3 separate regions of the Homo sapiens genome follow, and regions 1 and 2 are each linked to region 3. Evidence: promoter capture Hi-C in 16 types of primary human blood cells and fetal thymus (Javierre and others, 2016). All regions are on one chromosome and are shown on one strand. The core of a region is centred on a gene start or on the middle of the fragment in contact, and the rest is flanking DNA. Distances in the headings are between cores, read along the strand shown.

What was found. Contacts are between HindIII fragments. The CHiCAGO score rates a contact against its expected background, and 5 or more counts as called.
Region 1: the fragment with the promoter of AFG2B here is called in contact with a fragment that was not itself captured in region 3 in 1 of 17 cell types (neutrophils); the score reaches 8.7 in neutrophils.
Region 2: the fragment with the promoter of SQOR here is called in contact with a fragment that was not itself captured in region 3 in 1 of 17 cell types (neutrophils); the score reaches 5.4 in neutrophils.

The regions. Positions count from the first base shown.
Region 1 is chr15:45,401,086-45,403,785 of GRCh38, reverse strand. AFG2B (AAA ATPase AFG2B) reads right to left here and starts at 1,450. Exons shown (of 8, transcript NM_024063.3): 1 at 268-1,450. The coding sequence starts at 1,356. It also overlaps a transcript of GATM not described here. RefSeq lists silencers at 618-767, 1,158-1,237 and enhancers at 1,318-1,477, 1,868-1,937, 1,948-1,997. The HindIII fragment of the contact is 3,246 bases long and covers 1-2,700 here.
Region 2 is chr15:45,633,779-45,636,478 of GRCh38, reverse strand. It overlaps SQOR (sulfide quinone oxidoreductase), which reads right to left and starts at 1,450. Exons shown (of 10, transcript NM_021199.4): 1 at 1,371-1,450. RefSeq lists enhancers at 679-728, 759-848, 1,311-2,306 and a silencer at 1,329-1,498. The HindIII fragment of the contact is 3,121 bases long and covers 1-2,178 here.
Region 3 is chr15:44,295,321-44,298,032 of GRCh38, reverse strand. The region is part of intron 1 of GOLM2 (golgi membrane protein 2); the gene reads right to left. Among named protein-coding and RNA genes, the nearest start is that of GOLM2, 8.0 kb to the right of the region's middle. RefSeq lists a silencer at 1,688-1,982. The HindIII fragment of the contact is 6,274 bases long and covers 1-2,712 here.

The DNA of each region.
Region 1 (2,700 bases), core at 201-2,700, 1.1 Mb before region 3:
CTTCCCAAAACAATTAGACTCTGGGGAAACAGGTCCTGACTCTCAGATCCTGACTCACAGGTCCTGACAATTTGACTCTGGGGAAATACAGGTCCTGACTCACAGATCATATATCGGCAGAGAACGTGTTCTCTGCATTGCAAAGAGCCCCAACTCCAACCTCACCGATGCTCAAACCTAAGAGGCAAACGCCTCCGGGGCAGCCAAATGGCGCCAGAAGCGGCCGAGGTTCCACCGACAGTGGGCAAACCCGCCAAGCCCATTCACCTCTCGGTCAAATCTCCCGGGCCTACGCAGCGCTGGGTCTAGAGCGTCCGGCCGGTTAGTGGCTCCCACAACCACGACCTCGCGGTCCCCACTGGCGCCGTCCAGCAGCGTCAACACCTGGGCCACTACGCGGCTCTCGGGTGCTCGACTGCCCCGCTGGGGACACAAGGCGTCCATCTCGTCCAGGAAGAGGAGGCTGGGTCCGCGGCTGGCCAGTTCCCGGGCGCGCTGGAAGACCCGCCGCACGTTCTCCTCGGTCTCCCCAGGCCGGGAACCCTGCAGCGCCGGGGCGCTGACTGCCAGCAGCTCCGCGCCCGCCTCGCGCGCCACGGCCCGCACCAGCTGGGTCTTGCCCACTCCGGGGGGCCCCGCCAGGAGCACCCCGCGAGGCACCGCTAAGCCCAGCGCGGTCAGGGCGCGCGGGTAGCGGAGCGGGAGGCGGAGGAGCTCCCGCAGCGAGTCGGCCGCCTCCGAAAGACCTCCCAGGGGCACCTCGGGCTGCGGCTGGGCTTCCGACGGAGGCTCCCCGCCAAGGCTGACGCGGGTACGAGGGGTGACCAGCCCAGCGGGATCGGGACTGGGCGTCCCGCCGACGATGTGCAAGGCAGCCACCAGGCCAGGAGCGCCTGGCGGAGCGACCACCACGTGGCCCAGGGAGATCGGTCGGTTTCTCAGCAGCTCCTGTGCCGCCTCCAGCACCGCGGCTGTATTCCGGGCACCGGGCGCGCCTGCCCGCTCTCGCAACACCGGCCACACGGCGACGCGCCGCAGGGGCGGACAGGGCACTAGGAGGAGGCGATTCAGGCTGAGACTCCTCCGGGATCTCGACGCCCCGACCGCCGCCCCGGGGCTCGCGCACAGCGGGTCCAGCTGCACAAAGCCGTCCGCTCCGTCCCGCCGAGGCCAGGCAGTGCAGAGGCAGGAGCCGCCGTCGGGTAGCGAGATCTTCACTGCCGAGCCCAAGCGCGCGCCCAGGGCGTGGAGGGCGGCCGGGCCCAGGCGGCAGCGCTGGGTGCCCCGGTCTCTAGCGTCTAAGGGTAGCAGCTTTAAGAGCGGCCCTTCAGGGAAGGGATCCGAGTCCGGAGCCATCGCACACAGATGAACCAGGCAGACGAAACCAGATTAGGAAACCCACCCGGCCCACAAAAAGCGGAACACCGAGCTCGCAGGCCGGAAGCAGATTGCGCGCATGCGCTAGGGCAGACTGCGTTGCTAGCAGCTGAGTGAAGGCCGAAAGGGCCAATGGAAACGTTAGACGACGCTCGGGCCTCTGGGTAGAGCGTTGGTGTCCGCTTTCGTGAAATCGAGTTGCCTAACCCAGAGCTTTCCCGAGATGGTCTTCGTTACAGGTGTCTGGGAGGCGGCTTAAGCTCACTTCACTAGGTCATTAAGCATGTACTTTGGTGGTTACATATATCTTGGAAGTCACCGGCTTTACATTCTGTTTTCCTGGCCTTCGAACTGGAGCATCAGTACTACCGCCGTTGGAATAGCAACCTAGAGACTTTGCTATTTTGTGAAGAAACTCTAACTATCCGCATGGGCACAGAATTTTGGGTGCTCTGGTGCAAATGTCTCAGGTGACTTGGCGTAACTGAGAATACAGCCTTGGGACCTTCGGTAATCGGGGTTCCAATCTGGGAGGTCCAGGCACAACCCTTCCTATGGGAAAGTACCAGCATAGTGGGAGGGAAGCACACGGTAGCGCTTAAAATCCCTTGTAGAGAGGAAAGAAGGAAAACTAGGCTACCTGATGGATTTGTAGCACACCAACAGTACATTTGTTCTGATTTCTGATATTCTTTTGAATATTCTTTGGCAACAAGTTAATCACTAAAGTTCATGCGATCAATGCTTACTGTCTAATTGGGGCACAACAGTACTAAGTCCTGTATTAGAGGCGATACCTATCTACGTTATTAAGACAACTGCCTGCTATTTTTTTTTTCCAGCTGCTTTCTGCCTTTCCCTTTCGCACAGGGAATTCCTTTTTATCAGCTGGAATACATTTTCTATCCCTCTTAATTGCCGTTAAAAAAGAACTACAGATACTCAAAGACAAGAAGATATACCTTGTTTTTATTTGACTTACATCTTCCTACCTCTATTTTCCCCACTTTCACTGCAACCCAAATTTGTGAGTTGACAAAACTGATATTTTAGAGTGCTTAAGTTGCTGGGAAGTTTTTTTTTTCTATCTATGCAAATAATCAATTACAGACTGTGTAGTAATATCTTATCAATGGGAAGTACTGTCAGATCTGGGATCTTAAGACCCATGCCAGTTCCTGATCTCATTCTGTCCAAACTTCATGGCAGACATGACAGACTTCTTGACTTGACAGTAACTTACCTGGTCTCAGCTGTACTTGTCTGCTTAAATCGATTCTGGAACAATTTAGGAATCAGAAAATAGCAGGAGGAGGTCTTGAA
Region 2 (2,700 bases), core at 201-2,700, 1.3 Mb before region 3:
TGAACCGAGATCGCGCCACTGCACTCCAGCCTGGTGACAGAGTGAGACTCCGTCTCAAAAAAAAAAAAAAAAGAAGAAAGAAATTACAGATATTTTCTTATATTACAAGTATTACCTATATCTTGAAATAATTGTTTATGTTCTTTACTACTTCAAAATTATGGTAACTATTTAATCCACTGCTAGATCTTGTTATTTAATAACCTTGTTATTAAATAACGCATTCGTTTTTTAAAGACATATATATTACCATATCATAAATTCTTTTAATGTTTTGACATGTGTTTTGCAATTGGTTTCCTTTATAATACTCTTCCTTTTGTTTTATACCTTTAAAAAAGCATTGTTCTGGTCCAGCGCGGTGGCTCACTCGTGTAATCCCAGCACTTTGGAAGGCCGAAGTGTGCGGATCATTTGAGGCCAGGAGTTCGAGACCAGCTGGGCAACATGGTGAAACCCGCCTCTACTACAAATACTAAAATTAGCCAGGTGTGCTGCGCCTGTAATCCCAGTTACTCGGCAGGCTGAGGCAGGAGAATCGCTTGAACCCGGGAGGTGGAGGTGGCAGTGAGCCGAGATCGCGCCACTGCACTCCAGCTTGGGCGACAGAGCAAGACTCTGTCTCAAAAAAAAGTATTGTTCTGAGAGTCTTTAGCCTTCCCAGAAATGCCAAAGGGGTGCACAGCACAAAAATGGAACAGAGCCCTGCATTATAGCAATGGGCAGCGCAGGCAAAGCCAGGGGCTCTGTTCAGCGTCTTTGAGCAAAAAGCCAGGTTGGAATTTTGATAAATAAAAGAGACAGATGAAGAGGAAAGGAAATGAGCCCAGATTCCACCAGAAGACCCCTTCTCCCTTTCCACCAATTCCTGTTCAGCAGGTGCCCTAAATCCTCTCCCCTTCAGGTTTCAGCTGCAGCCGACCCCTCGAGCGCCCCCTCTGTCCCACGCGCAGTGTCGGTGGATGACTGTGTCAATCCCTGGCCCCCGGACGCCGAGCACCCACTCCCGCTCCAGGACGGTGCCGAGTGACAGTCAACAGGTGGAAGGCGCCAGAAACGTCCACACACCAAGACCACGGATACTTCGGTTTTTAAGCACCCCTCGCGGGTTGGCCTCTCCGCGGCCCTGAGGCTCTGACACTCTGAGAAGGAAGCAAGAGTCCCAAGACCCGGGTTCCAGACAAGGGCAGCAAGAGCTGCAGGTGTCCGGAGTTGAGGAAGCAAAGTTTGGGGCGCGGCGCACCGGGTCTGCGGAGTCCCAGCTGCGGAAACCGAGTTAAGCTAACAAACAGCCTCAGTGGTGGTCGCTGTCCCCGCCCAGTCTCCCTCCGCTGGCCCAGGGCCAAAGATCGGCCGCGGATGCCTCTTACCCGGGCGTGAGCGGAGCCTTCGGTCACTGCGTTGGCGCAGCAAAAACCTTCGCTCCCTTCTGGGTCTCAAGGCCTGGACTGGGGCCCCGCCCGCCTGCCATCCGGGCGGAGGCTGGAGGCGGGGAAAGCGAGGCTCCCCCCAGGAAAGGTCCCGAAAAGTCCCGCCGTGCCCCGCCCGGCGCCGCAGCCCAGGCACCATGGTCAGTGAACACACCAGGGCGTTGAGCGCTCACGGGGCACAGAACCAGGAACAAGCGTCCATCCGGCCTGGGGTGCTGCCGGCTGGACAGACTCGCCCCTTGCGCGCCCTGAAGGGCGGCCCCGCAGGCTGGGGCGCACAGGCGGAGGACACCGAGGCCACCTGACGCTTCCGCCCCTGGGTGCCAACAGCGTTTTGTAATCAGGGCAGGCAAAAGCGGAGGCGGGGCGCTGTGCAGAGAGGCTCTGGCTGTTCCCACTGGGTCCTCCTATGTGCCCTGGGCTTCTCACCGGGTTCACACAGCTGCCCAGAAACACAGGTATTCCCGCGCTCATTTCACAGAGAAGGTGACCGAGGTTCAGCTTTGGTGTGCGCTGGAGCCCTTCCTTCAAAACGCGCAGGCAGGGGTAAGCTGGCTTCCAGCCACTGGCCTCCACAGTGTCCCATCCCATATTCATGACTGGACATTTTCAGTTGGCGGCTCTTTCCAGGTTGATGTAAAGTCTCAGTGAGTGGTTCTCCACCATATCAGATTCAGTAACCCTTTTTACAATAAATACAGGGTGTCCCAAAAGTCTCATAACCTGAGAAGTGCAAGTGCTAGAAGCTTTCAAAAAAACAAACAAAAATAAACCCTTGAAAGTTTGAGTTTCTTTTACACTTATTTGGTTTTATGAATTTTGAATATATATATATATATATATATATATAGTTGTTGTTGTTGTTTTTTGAAACAGAGTCTCACTGTGTTGCCCAGGCTGGAGCGCAGTGAGTAGAGCAATCTCGGCTCACTGCAACATCTGCCTCATGGGTTCAACCAATTCTGGTGTCTCAGCCTCCTGAGTAGCTGGGACTACAGGTGTGTGCCACCATGCCCGGCTAATTTTTGTATGTTTCAGTAGAGATGAGGTTTCACCATGTTGGCCAAGCTGGTCTCAAACTCCTGGCCTCAAGCGATCTGCCCTCCTGGGCCTCCCAAAGTGCTGGGATTACAGGCGTGAGCCACCATGCCCAGCCTTGAATATTATTTTTTTAAATGTTTTCAACTGATACTTTCTATCTTTAATCAAAGAGACTGACTGTATCTATGGCAAAATCATCATGAACAATACAATACAAACGCAGACTGTA
Region 3 (2,712 bases), core at 170-2,669:
AGCCAGGCCTGGTGGTGCGTGCCTGTAATCCCAGCTACTCAGGAGGCTGAGGCAGGAGAGTCGCTTAAACCCGGGAGGCGGAGGTTGCAATGAGCCAAGATTGCGTCACTGTACTGCAGCCTGGGCAACAGAGCAAGACTCCATCTCAAAAAAAAAAAAAAAAAAGGCCAGGTGCGGTGGCTCACACCTGTAATCCCAACACTTTGGGAGGCCAAGGCGGGTGGATCATGAGGTCAGGAGATCAAGATGGAGACCATCCTGACTAACATGGTGAAACCCCTTCTCTACTCAAAATACAAAAAATTTAGCTGGGCCTGGTGGCGGGTGCCTGTAGTCCTAGCTACTCAGGAGGCTGAGGCAGGAGAATGGTGTGAACCCGGGAGGCGGAGCTTGCAGTGAGCCAAGATCACACCACTGCACTCCAGCCTGGGCGACAGAGCAAGACTCTGCCTCAATTAAAAAAAAAAAAACAAAAAAAAATTGGTATAATAAATATACAGAAAAGAGGCAAGAAACTAAGAGTCAAACAGCAGGAACAAAGGCACAGAAACAGGAATTAACATGACACAGAAAGGCAGGTGGGAAGGCAAAAGTAAGCAAAACAATCAGCCTGAAATACAATTTGGGTCAGGAGATAGTGGGAGACAAAGGTAGCTAGAGCCATTCTATGGAAGACCTTAAAGATGAGACAGCAGAATTCTAACCTGATGTAGTCAGTGAGTCATACAGCCACTCTGAAAATAAGGTTTGAGGAAGTTCAGGCTGGCTTCACAGGAGAACTGACAAAAAGAAATGGAGACCAAGGAAAGGGGACTAGTTAGGGATCTGCCAAGTTCTCTATTCTGCAGTCAGAATGACGTTTTTTTTAATTCGATCAAGTAACTCCTCTGCATGTTGAAGCACTCAATATGATACACTGAAGGAATCAAAGACAACACCAAATTTCTAACCTCAGTCTTAAATAACAGTTGCATGGGCATCATTTATAGGAACCAAGAAGGTAGGAAAGGGATATCGTTTGGAAGAGTTATCAGTTTTGATTGGTTTATGAATAATTTGAGGTAGAAATTACAGTTAAAAGTTGGCCAGATTATGGCTGGTGAGGCAGAGGCAAAGGCAGGAATTATCATGTGCAGCATATTAGAACTGTAGAAGGTTGATACTCAAATTACAGAAGAACAGGCAAGCTCTAGGGAGTCAGCTAAGACACCTATGGGAGGAGCCAACTAAGCCTAACTGGAAATGAACCAGGAAACTGAAAACAAGCAAATAACAAAAACAGTCAGACATTCAGGAGCAAAGGGTGAGGCAGGTAGGCTAGGGCTGGGACCAGATCTTGGGCAGGAACACAGACAGAGTCCCATCCTGGAAAAAAGGCAGAAAAGAAATAAGGAAGTAGCTGTAGAATAACAATGTAGTAGGCACTGTTTTAAGAATTTTAATCAATTTACTCAAACCTCTCAAGAATAAGAGAGACTACTATTATATTCCAAAATTTTCCCCCAAAAAGCATTTTTTTGTAATACGCTTCTCATCCTCCTTTCTGACATATGACCTTTTCCCCATTCAACTAAAGGCATAGGCTGCCTCAAGGAAAATTATGGTTGTTAAAGGGAAAAAAGGTCATTTACTATTCAGCTTCAAACCTCAAAACTGATGTGTGTGTATGTGTGTGTATGTGTGTAATAAAACGACAATTTTGAGGACTTTTTCTACATTCTAACAGCTCCTTTTATTTATCAAGAGCTTGACGTGCCACAGCTGGACCACATAGCTTTAGTATGAGCTACAGTTTGCAAGAATCCAAGTTTAGGAGCCAAGCACAGTGGTGCACACCTGTAGTTTCAGCTACTCAGAAGGCTTAAACAGGAGGACCTTCACTTGAGACCAGGAGTTCCTGGCTGTGGTGTGCTATGATCACACCTATGAATAGCTACTGCATTCTAGCCTGGGCAATGTAGTAAGACCCCATCTCTTTAAAAGACAAAGAGAGAGAGAATAATAATCAAAGTTAAGAGACATGCCCTGTACTGAGGAAAGAGAAATAAGGACTTTTCTGATAAAAGAGGAAATAAAAGGGTGTCTGTGTGTGTGTGTGTGTGTGTGTGTGTGTGTATGTGTGGTGGATCTCCCTTGTTCTAAGATGAACTGTGTTTCCCCCAAATTCACATGTTGAAGTCCCAGCCTCCAGGATCTCAGAATGTAACTGTATTTGGAGACAAGGTCTTTAAAGTGCTTAAGTTACAGTGGGTCTAATCCAATATGACTCGTATCCTTTTAAGAAGAGGAAAAGACACCAAGGATGTGTGCATACAGAGGGACTATCATGTCACAATAAAGCAGCAAGAAGGTTGCCATCTGCAAGCCAAGGAGAGAAGTTCAGAGAAAAACAACCCTGCTGGCACCTTGGTCTTAGACTTCCAACCTTCAAAAATGTGAGAAAATAAATTTCTGCTGTTTAAGCCACCTAGTCTGTGGCATTTTGTTATGGCAGCCCTAGCAAACTAATACACCCCTCCAGGCTGAAACCCTTTAGAGGGAAGTTTAAAAAATCAGAAAGTTTGAGGGAATCTCAGAGAAGTGGGGGTTGTTTCTCACTTCTTTGGACAAGACAGGAGCAACTTAAAGCTCCCTTAAAGAATTTCCATGTTCAAGGCCGGATGTGGTGGGTCATGCCTGTAATCCAGCACTTTGGGAGGCCAAGGTGGGCAG